Linked DNA regions of Homo sapiens: regions 1, 2, 3 and 5 are each linked to region 4. The links are contacts of gene promoters, found by promoter capture Hi-C in blood cells and fetal thymus (Javierre and others, 2016). All regions are on one chromosome and are shown on one strand. The core of a region is centred on a gene start or on the middle of the fragment in contact, and the rest is flanking DNA. Distances in the headings are between cores, read along the strand shown. Region 1 overlaps BCORL1 (BCL6 corepressor like 1). Region 2 overlaps UTP14A (UTP14A small subunit processome component). Region 3 overlaps BCORL1 (BCL6 corepressor like 1). Region 4 holds the start of APLN (apelin). Region 5 overlaps BCORL1 (BCL6 corepressor like 1).

The links. Contacts are between HindIII fragments. The CHiCAGO score rates a contact against its expected background, and 5 or more counts as called.
Region 1: a fragment that was not itself captured here is called in contact with the fragment with the promoter of APLN in region 4 in 6 of 17 cell types (activated CD4 T cells, non-activated CD4 T cells, total CD8 T cells and 3 more); the score reaches 10.3 in activated CD4 T cells.
Region 2: a fragment that was not itself captured here is called in contact with the fragment with the promoter of APLN in region 4 in 10 of 17 cell types (total B cells, activated CD4 T cells, naive B cells and 7 more); the score reaches 12.6 in total B cells.
Region 3: a contact is called between a fragment that was not itself captured here and the fragment with the promoter of APLN in region 4, in 11 of 17 cell types (non-activated CD4 T cells, naive CD8 T cells, naive CD4 T cells and 8 more). The highest score is 11.0, in non-activated CD4 T cells.
Region 5: a fragment that was not itself captured here is called in contact with the fragment with the promoter of APLN in region 4 in 5 of 17 cell types (non-activated CD4 T cells, total B cells, activated CD4 T cells and 2 more); the score reaches 7.9 in non-activated CD4 T cells.

Annotation. Positions count from the first base shown.
Region 1 is chrX:130,056,080-130,058,779 of GRCh38, forward strand. It overlaps BCORL1 (BCL6 corepressor like 1), which reads left to right. Exons shown (of 14, transcript NM_001379451.1): 14 at 1-1,992. The coding sequence ends at 57. Among named protein-coding and RNA genes, the nearest start is that of ELF4, 53 kb to the right of the region's middle. The HindIII fragment of the contact is 3,020 bases long and covers 1-2,700 here.
Region 2 is chrX:129,924,334-129,927,033 of GRCh38, forward strand. UTP14A (UTP14A small subunit processome component) reads left to right here. Exons shown (of 15, transcript NM_006649.4): 12 at 462-862; 13 at 1,586-1,779; 14 at 1,907-2,006. All of the region lies in intron 2 of LOC105373335 (a long non-coding RNA gene), which reads right to left. Among named protein-coding and RNA genes, the nearest start is that of UTP14A, 20 kb to the left of the region's middle. RefSeq lists a silencer at 1,401-1,450. The HindIII fragment of the contact is 700 bases long and covers 927-1,626 here.
Region 3 is chrX:130,035,965-130,038,664 of GRCh38, forward strand. It overlaps BCORL1 (BCL6 corepressor like 1), which reads left to right. Exons shown (of 14, transcript NM_001379451.1): 10 at 1,403-1,569. Among named protein-coding and RNA genes, the nearest start is that of BCORL1, 55 kb to the left of the region's middle. The HindIII fragment of the contact is 5,010 bases long and covers 1-2,700 here.
Region 4 is chrX:129,653,578-129,656,277 of GRCh38, forward strand. APLN (apelin) reads right to left here and starts at 1,379. Exons shown (of 3, transcript NM_017413.5): 1 at 987-1,379. The coding sequence starts at 1,053. RefSeq lists enhancers at 651-710, 2,403-2,492, 2,503-2,562 and silencers at 1,001-1,050, 1,141-1,220. The HindIII fragment of the contact is 20,761 bases long and covers 1-2,700 here.
Region 5 is chrX:130,014,522-130,017,221 of GRCh38, forward strand. It overlaps BCORL1 (BCL6 corepressor like 1), which reads left to right. Exons shown (of 14, transcript NM_001379451.1): 4 at 1-1,692. Among named protein-coding and RNA genes, the nearest start is that of BCORL1, 33 kb to the left of the region's middle. The HindIII fragment of the contact is 2,340 bases long and covers 146-2,485 here.

The DNA.
Region 1 (2,700 bases), core at 79-2,578, 400 kb after region 4:
CCAGACCTACTTCGGCTCCTAGGGTCCGAGGTGGAATTCCAGTCTTGCAACAGTTGACCGGGAAAACAGCCCCTCCTCTTCTTTCTCCTTCCGAGTTCGCCCTTCCCCCACCTCCTTGTCTTTCCCCGACCGAGCACCAGACTGCAGAATGAGGCAATAATACGGACCAACAAGAAGCCGCCTTATCAATGCCAGCATTAGCGACTGGACTGTTTTTGTTTTTTTGGTTACAATTAGTTCTCATCTCCCTGTCGTCGTCATTGTTATCGTGGTTGCTGATGGGGGTGGAAAGTTGAACTCCATGTCTGAGGACAAGAGGTCCCGGGGGTGGTGGGAGGTGGCGCCGGGGTCCCTTGGACTGGCCTCCTTGTTCATGACCAAGACCAAACCTGGGCCCTGGATGGCCTTGGCCTGTCCCGAGGAGAAATGAGAAAATCCCAGATCTCTGAGCGCCCCCCAACTCCATTCCCCTGTGTTCTTCTGTCTTCTGTAGTATTTATTTTATTAGTATTTAATTTGTATTGTTTCATTGGTTTCTGATAAGTCTGTATCACTGTGACGATTTGAGACAACTTGTTGTATTGAGGGACTTTCTGTACCTCCTTTTCTTTTTCTTTGTTGATGAGCTCTGACAAAGCTATTCCCTGGTGTTTTTTTCCCCCACTGGGGAGGGGGTGAGGTGGAATGGGGTGGGGGAACATGGACTTGTGACTAACGAAGCTGGTTGCTGCTGGCCCAGGGCTGGGGGCTTGGGGGTAAATCCTGAGGCTTTGGTGCTCCCCCACCCACCCATTCCCGCCCTTTGCAGCAGCCCCGCTATCTTGAGATTAGTGTTGACAGGGAGGGGAGGATTGTGAGGTGAGGGGTTAATAAGTTACTCTAATAAAGGAGCGTGGAGAAGGGATCTGAGGGGTGAGGGTGGCCCCCCTCCTCACGCCTTCTTCACTGCCCCCCTCAGAGTGCACAATACGAGTTTGTTCCTGCCTCCACTCTCCCACCCCGTTCTGGCCTCCCTGTCTCAAGATACTGAGCCTCTCACCTCCCAGCCCTCAGCCACCCCCATCCCTGCCCCTTCTGAGACTCACAGCACCCCTTTCCTTCCTCTCCTCCCACCTCCTCCCTCAGCCCCTCATTCTCCTTGGGAATCTGCAGAGGGCTCTGGGACTCACTGCCGGATGTGAAATCCAGGCGTCAGCTGTTTCCTAGGCAAGGGCAGGAAAGTGGTCTCCAGCCCTTGCTCCACTCATGCCTGGGGGCCTGGGGCTGAGTGGTATCCCTACCTGGCCTCCCCCTGGCCTCTGGGCCTCCAGCGCTGGGTTTGTCGAGTGAGAGAGAGAGAGGAGCTTGGGTTGCTTCCCTGTCCCCGCCCCCTCTGTGGCATTGTCCCTCCCACTCTTATTTTTCTACCAATTGCTATTTTTCCGAACAATCCTTGTAGAGTATGTACCATCCAAAGGCAGGAGGGCCTCGCCGTGGCCGGCTCTGGTTGGAGATGGTACAGTTTTATTGTACAGGTGCTAAAACAACAACAACAAAAAAGAAAATGGAAAAAAAAAAGATTAAAAAAAAAAGGAAAAAAAAAAAGCCAGTTTGAGGATGGGACAATCTGTTCTCTAGAGGCTCCTGAGCCATGCGGGAGCATTGGTGGTTATTTTCTTTGTATTGTGTTTGTTCTTTGTTCCTGGGGGGGAAGTTCTCGGCCCCCTTCTGTAGGACTGCTCCCCACCCCCACCATACTGCCCAGTTGGTTTTGAACAGTTGTTTTCCCTTTTTAAGAAAAAAAAATACATATATATATACATATATATATATAAAGTTGAGGGGTTTTGGACTTTAATTTGTTGGTTTTGTTGGGGTTCCTGGTATTGTGTAGTTTATTTCATGTTCTGTTTGCCTTTCCTTTTTTCGCATTTGGGTGTATATTCTGGCTGCCCTTTATGTTTCATTTTAAGCAACTGGCTGTGGAGTCAAAAACACTTGCATACTGAAAAACCTGTGTCAGGGCTTCTGTCTCCCGTCTCTCTTTTTCTCTCCCGTCTCTCTTTTTCTCTCCTCCCCTTTGGGACTTTTTGGTGGTTTCAGAAGGTGGGCATTGTGATTCAGTAAATGGGGAGCCCCCGCCATCCTGCTTTGCAGCTGTGGGTCCCAAGGGGTACGATGAATAAAGGCAAGGTGGAGTGGCTAGTGAACATTGGGTCACGATCTGGAAAGAAAAAGAAAGGGGCAAATCCTGGGGGCGGGGCCAGTGGGGGCAAATGGAGCATCTGGCTCCTGTTGCTTTGGTTTGGGGTTGAAGCAGGTGCCTGGGCAGTCCTTGTTTACATAGGAGTAGCAGGGTTGGAGGAAGTAGCCTTCTCTGTGGTGGCTGTGGGAATAAGCCTCCTTAAGGAAGTCCCCTGCTTGCCCTAGGCCACCCTGCCGAGGTGGCATCTGGCTGCATGGCCTCATCACTGCCCTCACTGTTGTGCCAGTGCTCCCCACCCACGGTGCAGGCCTTCCATGGTTCTGTTTTCCTGCCACCGAGCTACCATGAAGGCAAGATGCCCATCCTGGATTTTGCAGTTTTTCCTCCCACTTCTGAAAAACAGTGGTAGAAGCTATGATTCTTGTGATTGCTGGTTCCAGAATGCACCAGTGACTGAGAGGAAGAGGATGTTCGAGAGGCCTGGGATGAGGCCCTTTGAAGCTCTATTCTCTTAG
Region 2 (2,700 bases), core at 27-2,526, 270 kb after region 4:
TGGAGTGCAGTGGCACAATCTCGGCTCACTGCAACCTCTGCCTCCCTGGTTCAAGTGATTCTCCTGCCTCAGCCTCCTGAGTAGCTGGACTACAGGCACATGCCACCATGCCCAGCTAATTTTTTGTATTTTTAGTAGAGATGGGGTTTCACCGTGTTAGCCAGGATGGTCTCGATCTCCTGACCTCATGATCTGCCCGCCTCGGCCTCCCAAAGTGCTGGGATTACAGGTGTGAGCCACCGCACCTGGCCACATGCTACTTTTAATTACCAAACTCCGTTGCCTGCTATGATTAGTGTACTGTCTAGGAGATTCAATGTACAGAATCTTCTTTTCCCCGTTTGTCCTTTTTATAATGTCTTATGTGGTACCTAGCACTTGGTGGGTGCTCAACAAATGCTTACCGACCAGACAACGTACAAACCTCATTTTCTGACAGTTTTCATTCTTTTTTCCCCCAGATTCTGGCAGCCAGGAGGTGCTGTCTGAATTGAGAGTACTATCTCAGAAATTGAAGGAAAACCATCAGTCCAGGAAGCAAAAAGCAAGTTCAGAGGGGACTATTCCCCAGGTCCAGAGAGAGGAACCTGCCCCAGAAGAAGAGGAGCCCCTGTTGCTACAGAGACCAGAGAGAGTACAGACGCTGGAAGAGCTAGAAGAGCTGGGAAAAGAAGAATGTTTTCAAAATAAGGAGCTTCCCAGACCTGTGTTAGAAGGGCAGCAGTCAGAGAGGACCCCAAATAATCGCCCTGATGCCCCTAAGGAGAAGAAAAAGAAGGAGCAAATGATCGACCTACAGAACCTCCTAACCACACAATCTCCCTCCGTGAAGTCTTTGGCAGTTCCCACAATAGAGGAGCTGGTGAGCAGAGCCAGGGTGGTGGGCCATTGTTCAGAAAGTGTCGTTCTTGCGCAAGGAGTAATGAAGCTTTGTTTTGCTGGGGGCACATTTCAGTAGTTTAGAGGTCCAGAATAGTATAGGGCCAGGCTAGTCCCAGTGACGTTTTAATAGATGCAGATATATGGGTGCTGCCAAGACCCCTATTTCCGAAAGCCTGATCCACAAAAACTCCTCTGGGGTGACTCTAAAACTGCTCTCAGAGGTAAGAGGGAGTAACTCAGAGTTCTGACCAGATCCCAGGCAGGACAACTTGAAGGTGAGTCATTGAACTGTTGCGAAAGTTTTATTCAGTGGGATCTCAGATGGTCTAAGACTCCCCAGTTAATCTGAAACTTAAAGTGAAGCGTCCTGGCACCTGTCTTTTCAGGGATATAAGCTGGAGGAAGCCTACAGTCTGGCCACTTAGAGCTCCTGCTGCTAACACGGGCCATTCCTTCCTCCACCCTGCAGCTTCCTTACTGAAAAGTTTAAAATTGTGTCATATGATAATGAGCTAGGGATATTTACCCTAGAGGGAAGAAAATTTGAGCATGATTGGCTGTGCACTGGTTTGTATCGCAAGACCATCATTGTTCAGCACTTCCCCCTAGGGGGCGCTAAAATGTCACGACCCGAAATTCAAGCGTTCTCGCCATGAACCACAGCTCATAAGCCAAGCTGTAGCTCTCGCTTGTTTCTTCCCAGGAAGATGAAGAGGAGAGAAACCATAGGCAGATGATAAAGGAAGCTTTTGCTGGGGATGATGTCATCAGAGATTTCTTGAAAGAGAAGAGGGAAGCTGTGGAGGCGAGTAAGCCAAAGGACGTGGACCTGACACTACCTGGCTGGGGCGAGTGGGGTGGTGTGGGCCTAAAGCCCAGTGCCAAGAAAAGACGCCGGTAAGAATGCCGAAGAAAGTCTGTCAAAAGGGCACCGGGTTCTCCCCTCGCCCTTCGGTGTCCTCCCTACCCTTTTGACTAAGTCCTTAATGCTCCTAGTCAGATGTCCTGTTGTTTTGCTTTCCAGGTTTCTCATTAAAGCCCCTGAGGGTCCTCCAAGAAAAGATAAGAATTTGCCAAATGTGATTATCAATGAGAAGCGCAACATCCACGCAGCTGCTCATCAGGTGAGAGCTTAGAGAGCTCTTTAGCTGCCTGCTTGTTACTGCCTGGCTCTCTTGCTTGAGAGGAGTATTCTAGTGATCTGTAGTCAAGAGAGACGTGTGATCTTGACCGCAGAATCAAATCTGTTGTTTTCACTGAATGGCTGTTAGATTTATCATTTCAGATAGACTACGCTGTTTTAATTACTGGCCAGGAAAAAAGTTTAGAGTCAAGGTAATGCTCAAACAGAGGCTATAAGGTTTAAGCTGTAGCTTAAGAAAAATGAAGACAAACCGGTACTTGTTCAGGAGAATGAGAAGATTGTAAGTTGTGTCACATGATAATGAGCTAGGGATGTTTACAAGAGAAGAAAATTTGAGCGTGATTACGGTGTTCAAGTATATCGAAGGTTATTGTATGAAGTCACATAAAGTAGAAGTTAGAGGACATACAGAATTCAAGGCTGCTCTGGGAGTATGAGAATGTGTAAAGGGGACTCAAGAACGAGATTGGACTAGATGACCTTTATGTTCCCTTCAATTCTGAGATCTGTCCCCAGCCAGTATATTGAAATGAGTTACATTTTTCCCTCGGAAGGAATAAAGAATTAATGGCTACAGAACAGAGGTAAGAAGATACACATTTCAATAACATTCTTTTTGATCTTATTTTGTGAACCAATCACTGCAGAAACTGAATCATAACTACTGCAGTCCC
Region 3 (2,700 bases), core at 23-2,522, 380 kb after region 4:
CACACACAGCCGCTCTAGCCAGCTAGCCTGTGAGCTGTCAGACAGAAAGGTGGAGTGGCCCATCTCCCCAGTGCCCCAGAGAGGACTGGCAATGGTGCAGCTATGGGATCCATTGTTTGGAAAGCCAGGCAGCCATTAATGCTGCCAGCCTCTCCCCTCCTCACCTCATTCACCCAGCTTCAGCCCATGCTAGCTAGGGTGCTTCAAGTCCCTGGTGTCCCACCTGTAGTCCTAGCATCATCTCAATCCAAGGAAGGCAGTCATTAAAGTGTGGATGAATGGCAGTATTGGATTATCCTTTTTTTTTTTTTTTGGAGATGGAGTCTTGCTCTGTCACCTAGGCTGGAGTGCAACGGTGCAATCTCGGCTCACTGCAGCCTCCACCTCCTGGGTTCAAGGGATTCTCCTGCCTCAGCCTCCTGAGTGGCTGGGATTACAGGCACCTGCCATCACACTGGGCTAATTTTTGTATTTTTAGTAGAGAGGGGGTTTTGCCATGTTGGCTAGGCTGGTCTCAAACTCCTGACCTCAGGTGATCTGCCCGCCTCAGCCTCCCAAAGTGCTGGGATTACAGGCGTGAGCCACTGCACCCAGCCTATTGGATTATCCTGATTTGAGGGGAGGGCTAGAACTGACTGTCCTGGCTTGAACATTGGTCCTGCCGAGACGTGCATCCAGGGATAGTCCTTAAAACAATTGTCTTCCTTATTCTTGAATTGCCACCAGAGGCTGTGCTCTCCACCACATCTCATTTCTCTGGTCTGGGGCTGGCTTGCCAAGCTCAGGGAGTCGAGGTCTGAGTGCTTGAGCTCTGGGCGGGCAGGTCAGCCTCTCTGAGGACCTCACCTCAAATACCACCACCCAGATGAGTGTCCTTGGCCATAAAAAAAGTCTCTCCAGGCCAGGTGCGGTGGCTCACGCCTGTAACCCTAACACTTTGGGAAGCCAAGGTGGGCAGATCACCTGAGTTCAGGAGCTGGAGACCAGCCTGGCCAACATAGTGAAATCTCATCTCTATTAAAAATACGAAAATTAGCCAGGCGTGGTGGCGTGCGCCTGTAGCTCCAGCTACTTGGGAGGCTAAGGCAGGAGAATCGCTTGAACCTGGGAGGCAGAGGCTGCAGTGAGCTGAGATTGCGCCACTGCACTCCAGCCTGGGCAACAGAGTGAGACTGTCTCAAAAAAAAAAGTCTCTCCACTGCCAAGGAAACGGCCCAGAGCTGGGGTCCTGGCAATTGTGGCTCAGGACTGATGTTGTTAATGAAAGATTTTGAAGTGTGTCCCTGCTATAAAGGGCAGGCTCTGAGACTCCTCAGATATTTGGGGAGCTTTGAGTCTCAGGGTTATATAAGTTCAAGAATTAGACCTCTCTTTGCTCATGGAGTTGTCCCTGTCCCCACAGGATGTTGTTCTCTACTGCCTCCAGAAAGACAGTGAAGATGTGAATCACCGTGACAATGCTGGCTACACAGCCCTGCATGAGGCTTGTTCCCGGGGCTGGACCGACATCCTGAACATCCTGCTGGAGCACGGGGCCAACGTGAACTGCAGTGCGCAGGACGGCACGAGGCAAGAGGGCTGCATCTCCCCCCAGTCCCGCCCTCACTCCCAGCTCAGCCTCTCACTCAAAAGACCTTGCCTGCCGCTGGCAGGCATGGTGGCTCACGCCTGTAATCCCAGCACTTTGGGAGGCCAAGGCGGGCGGATCATGAGGTCAGGAGTTCGAGACCAGCCTGGCCAACATAGTGAAACCCCATCTTTACTAAAAATACAAAAATTAGCCGGGTGTGGTGGCATGTGCCTGTAGTCCCAGCTACTAAGGAGGCTGAGGCAGGAGAATTGCTTGAACCCAGGAGGTGGAGGTTGCAGTGAGCCGCGACCATGCCATTGCACTCCAGCCTGGGTGATGGAGACTCCGTCTCAAAAAAACATAAAAAATAAAAAAATAAAGACCTTACCTCAACCTGAACCTTCGTAGCACACCAGACTGCGAGTTGCAGAGAGGCCTTGACAGGAGGAGTTTTGGAAAGACTTCTATAGGCTCAAGAGGGAACCAGTTTAGGGCAGGAGCCAATGAGTTAGTTCCCAGATGGCCAGGCCGCATCAGTTACTAAGGGGAGGCTGTGGTTGTCTAGGGATCATCCCATCATGTGTAGCTGTCACCAGGAAGACCACTCGGTCTTCCCTCAACTCATCCTGGTGGGGGACGTGTCTCAGACAGAATAGAAACTGAGAGGTTGACCTGAGGGTAATATCCAGATTTGATTTTTAAAATTTGATCTCTAGACACTGTAAGAAAAATACACCTGCTGTGTCTTAGAGAAATTGTACCCATTCTCCTCTGTTCTACCAGAGAGCCTACTTCCTGGGCAAATTAGAGACAGGAGCTGCAGATCCAGGAGGGGGCTCCGCTTGGGTTCTGCCTGGCGTGTGGAGCCCTTCTGCTCATCTCTGCTCTCAGGGAGTCACCCAGGGCCTTCAGTTCCCTGAACTGAAGTATCCCTCTACAGTTGCCCCCACCTTTTTTTTTTTTTTGAGATGGAGTCTCACTCTGTCGCCCAGGCTGGTATGCAGTGGCACAATCTTGGCTCGCTGCAACCTCTGCCTCCCGGTTTCAAGCAATTCTCCTGCCTCAGCCTTCTGAGTAGCTGGGACTATGGGTGCCCGCCATGACGCCCAGCTAATTTTTGGATTTTTAGT
Region 4 (2,700 bases), core at 129-2,628:
CAGCCCCAGGAGACATTGACACAGAGGACAGGCAGCCTGGGATGGGGCTGCTGGGGCGTGGTTGGGGACCAGGCTAGGGGCGGACATGGGCACTAGTGCCAAGTATTGGCAGGTGAGGGCAAAAGGACTCCCCTTTCCTGAGCTGCAGGGAGGGGTCGGGTCAGGTGCTGTGCTTCCTCCTTTGGTGCCTAGCGGCAGGGAGACTAAAGTGAAGCATGTCCGTGCCTGGGACAGAAAGGAAGGCTGGAGCCAGGATGTAAGAGAACCAAGTCTCTGGGGGTGGGATGGAGGCTATGGGGAGGGCATCCTGTGCAGGGGAGGAGACCAGCCAGGACCTTGGGGTTAGGGAGGAGAAGACCAGCCCAGCCCGGCTGGGCCCGGCCCTGCCTGGGGGAGGCTGCCTCTGCTCACACATGCAGGCCGAAAGGAGCAACAGCTGGGCTCCATGCCGCCACCCCCTCCGCGCACTCCTGCCTATGCAACAAGTGTCACGTCTGCATGTTGGCACATCATCCCCGGTTTCCCGCGCCCCTGGACTGGCGGGAGGCTCCCAGCCTTCAGGGACCAGAAGACGTTCAACATGGGAGCCCAGCCCACTCGACTCTGGTCAGTTCCTTCCATCGATCCACGAGGGAGCGGGCATGTCCCCCGCCTCCACCTCTACCACGCGGGGTGCAGGGCGTGGGACACGCGGCGCACACCTGTGGTCCTGAGCTCCTGGGACTGCGAGCGACGGTTAGGAGGGACAAGGTGACGGGCAGGTGATGCCAAAGGCCGAGTTGAGCCCCGCAAAAGAAGCAGTCCTTGTGGCCAGCCGCCCCATGGCTCGGGGCGCTCTGTCAATCTGCTGCCTGGCGCTGGCCGGCGCGTGGCTGCTACTGCACGGCTCGCGCCGGGCTCCCCGGGAGGCGGGGAGAGTGCGAATAGGGCGGAGGGAAAGGAGCACGCCGGCTGCAGCCCGGGCGAGCGGGAGGGCGCGCACTCACCTCCACACACCGCGGTCAAGGAGAGCCAGAGCAGCAGGAGCGCCTGCACGCAGAGCCGCAGATTCATGCTGCTCCTTGGGCCGCCGCGGCCCCGGCGAGCCGGCGCGGGGGAGGAGAGGTCGGGCGCCCGGAGGCCAAGAAAGGCGCGAGCCGCGGCTGGCGCGTGCGGGCGCAGAGCTCGGGAGGCTCCCCGGCCGCTGAGTGTGCGCGCTGAGCCCCGCCGCTCCCGCTGGCCGCCTCCGCTCTTCTGCAGCCTCCTCTCCCGCCGCGGGGCAGCGCCGCGAAGCTGGCCTCGGCGGCTCCGGGAGCGGCAGCGGCGAGCTCTTTCTTAGCGGCTGGCTGCTCGGCCGCGGCTGCAACTGCCCGTGACCCCGGCTGCCAGAGAGAATGCTCCCCGCTCACTCCAGGGGCTGCATTTTGTAGCTTGTGGCTTGGCCGCGAGCCCACTTGGTCATGTGGTCATCGGGAGGGCTAGAGGGGGGGCAGGAAGAGGGAGAGGGAGCGAGCCTCCCGCACCGCCCCCCTCCAGGCACGCACTCTGCAGCCCCAGCCCGAGCGTGAGCGCGAGAGGGAACCCCGAGGTGGCCCCACAACAAAGGCTGCGCGGCCTCTCTGACAACCTACAACCGCTCCCCGGACAATGCCCGCCTGGCCGGGGGCCAGAGGGTTTGCAGAGACCTGAAGGATTTCAAACACAGGAAGCATTTGGGGCGGTGGAGGGGCACACTTAACCCTTTCTCACCTTGCTTCCTTAACAGCTGTCAGGAAACCTGGGCGCTTAGGGAAGGACTCAGTCTGGGTTGCCTTCACTCACGCCCTCTACCTCTGACCCTGGTCCTTGCCCTTGCCGCTGGCCAGCTTCAAGGGTTTGGTCAAGACAACCAAACACTGGCCCTCCTCTCTCCTCTGCATTTTCAACTGGCTTTGAATTGGGGGTGACTGCCTAGGCTTGTGCCCAAGGCTTGATTAATTGCCCAGGCCCCTCATGTTCCCTGCATCCCCCAGGAGGCACCCTCTACCTGGAATGCCCCCACCCCACCCTTCCGTGAGCAATTCATTCTTTGCAGCAGCACCTCAAATCCCATCGCATCCAGAAGCCTTCTCAGGATAACACTAATCCAGCAGGGGCCGCCCATCAGCTCCTCCCCACTGTTGGGACATGGGACAGCTCCTATGGTCTACCCTTTCTTGTTCCCTGGAGCTGTCCTCATTCTAGTTCCCCATCAACGTAAGAGGCAGGTGGTTTACCCAACTCCACACAGTCAAGGCTGGATTCATTTTGCGTGTACTTGCGATTCCGCTTTAGAAGCGGGTCCTGAAGTTGTTTGCCTTTCCAGACTCGATTGTTAGCTGCTTCTATAGCTTGGGAGCTCCCAAGGCATGGGGCTGCTTCCCTCATTGGACTGGGAACCCCCTAAGGTAGGATACTGTCTTCTCACTCTTCTGGATCTCTCCAAAGTCCCCAATATCTTGCTCTGCACATAGGTGGCACTCAACACATATTAAAAGACTGAATCGAAAGGTGTCTCCACCTTTCAGCAAGCCAGGCAGTTTGCTTGAAGTGTTAAGTCCAGATTTACACAAAAGATACATTGGACAGGGTGCGTGTGTGCCATAAAAGACATGAGAGACCATGGCATATTTAAAATATCTTTGAAATGTTGCAAAAATCCTATATATACACAATGTATTTATTATCAGTCTCTCTCCACCA
Region 5 (2,700 bases), core at 66-2,565, 360 kb after region 4:
CCCAGTGGCACCGAGCAGCAAACAGAAGGGACTTCCGTTACCTTCTCTCCTCTTAAGTCACCGCCACAGCTGGAACGAGAGATGGCCTCTCCACCTGAGTGCAGCGAGATGCCCCTTGATCTGTCCTCCAAGTCCAACCGCCAGAAGCTTCCATTGCCGAACCAGCGCAAGACACCCCCCATGCCTGTGTTGACCCCCGTGCACACCAGCAGCAAGGCCCTCCTCTCCACAGTCCTGTCTAGGTCTCAGCGCACAACCCAGGCTGCCGGTGGCAATGTCACCTCCTGCCTGGGCTCCACTTCCTCGCCCTTTGTCATCTTTCCCGAGATCGTGAGGAATGGGGACCCGAGCACCTGGGTGAAGAACTCAACTGCACTGATCAGCACCATTCCTGGCACCTACGTGGGAGTGGCCAACCCAGTGCCTGCATCCCTGCTGCTGAACAAAGACCCCAACCTGGGCCTCAACCGTGACCCCCGCCATCTCCCCAAGCAGGAGCCCATCTCCATCATTGATCAAGGAGAGCCTAAGGGCACTGGTGCCACGTGTGGCAAAAAGGGCAGCCAGGCTGGTGCTGAGGGACAGCCAAGCACAGTGAAACGATATACTCCAGCCCGCATTGCCCCTGGGCTGCCAGGGTGCCAAACCAAGGAACTCTCTTTGTGGAAACCCACGGGGCCGGCAAATATTTATCCCCGGTGTTCAGTCAATGGGAAACCTACCAGCACCCAGGTCCTGCCTGTTGGCTGGTCCCCGTACCACCAGGCGTCTCTGCTTTCCATTGGCATTTCCAGTGCCGGGCAGCTGACCCCCAGTCAGGGGGCGCCCATCAGGCCCACCAGCGTTGTTTCGGAGTTTTCTGGTGTGCCATCTCTCAGCTCCAGCGAAGCCGTGCACGGACTTCCTGAGGGGCAACCACGGCCTGGGGGCTCCTTCGTTCCAGAGCAGGACCCTGTTACAAAGAACAAAACTTGCCGGATTGCTGCCAAGCCTTATGAAGAACAAGTCAATCCTGTCCTCTTGACCCTCAGCCCTCAGACTGGGACCCTGGCACTGTCTGTTCAGCCTAGCGGTGGGGACATTCGAATGAATCAGGGGCCTGAGGAATCAGAGAGCCACCTCTGCTCTGACAGCACTCCTAAGATGGAAGGCCCCCAGGGGGCTTGTGGCCTGAAGCTGGCAGGAGACACGAAGCCTAAGAACCAAGTGCTGGCCACCTACATGTCCCATGAGCTGGTCCTGGCCACCCCCCAGAACCTGCCTAAGATGCCTGAGCTGCCTTTGCTACCTCACGACAGCCACCCCAAGGAACTTATATTGGACGTGGTTCCGAGCAGCAGGAGGGGCTCCAGCACAGAGCGCCCACAGCTTGGAAGCCAGGTGGATCTGGGGCGAGTGAAAATGGAGAAGGTGGATGGTGATGTGGTCTTCAATTTAGCCACCTGCTTCCGGGCTGATGGCCTCCCAGTGGCTCCCCAGAGGGGCCAAGCTGAAGTTCGGGCTAAGGCCGGGCAGGCTCGAGTGAAACAGGAAAGCGTAGGGGTCTTTGCTTGCAAGAACAAGTGGCAGCCAGATGATGTGACGGAATCTCTGCCGCCCAAGAAGATGAAGTGCGGCAAAGAGAAGGACAGTGAAGAGCAGCAGCTCCAGCCACAAGCCAAGGCCGTGGTCCGGAGTTCCCACAGACCCAAGGTGAGTGCTGAGCTAAGGTCCAGGGTGGGGCCGAGATGCCGCTGGTCTACTTCGTGCCATGGATAGCAACCTCCTGTGACCCCTACCCTGTGACACAGTGCTGTTGGGCAGCTGTGTGAACTGAACGGATTGGAAGGCTTTTGTAAAAGTAATAATGACCTGCTGTCCCCTCCCTAGGTCACATTTTCCATATACGGTGTCTCAGCATGGGGAGAGGCTGGCTTGTAGTTTGTAGGATGTGGGAAATGATTCTGTCCCTGGGGTAGGGAAGCCATTGTCCCAGATGAGATCGGAAAGCGGAAGAAGGTATTGGTGAGGGAAATCAATGAATAACAGGCTCTTCCTTGAATAACCATTCTTCCTTTTCCTTTACTGAGAGAACACTGGCCTTGAGAACTTAGGGATGGGGAGAGCAGGGGCCTCTGACGGGGTTGTTCCTTTCACCACTGGTTGGGGGGCCTGCTTAGGATTTGCTGGGAGCCTTGTGGGGTCAGAGCCAATTTGGCTTCTGTGCTAATCAGTTTCCTACCCGCTCGAATGCTTGAGGCAGCAGCTTTGGGTTTTGGCCCACTGGGGATTGGATGGGCAAGGCAGGTTGGGTGTCTGGGTGTTGGTCTTGACAGGCTATGGATGGTGGCAGAGTTCTAGGCAAAAAGGTGGGCCAGGAGCACTTGATGAGAATCCCCTGGTCCCCCAGAAGGGACCAGAGGCTACTGGTGATCCAAGGAGAATCTTGAAACATTTGAGGATAGGGTTTATTAAAAATCTAGAACAACTTGAAGTTCTGTTAGCAAGCTTTCAAGTTGGATGTTCATGTACACTAAGGGACAAAATTTCTGGCTAGAGCACTGTGAATTTGGCTGTGGCACAAGTTTATGGTCTTTTTTGGACCATAGACCATTTTGAAAAGCTGGTGAGAGCTATGGACCCTGTTCCCAGAAATGTGACCTCAGAATTTTGCCAATAATTTTAGGGGGTTCATGGACCTGACCTCTGCCCCATCGCCCA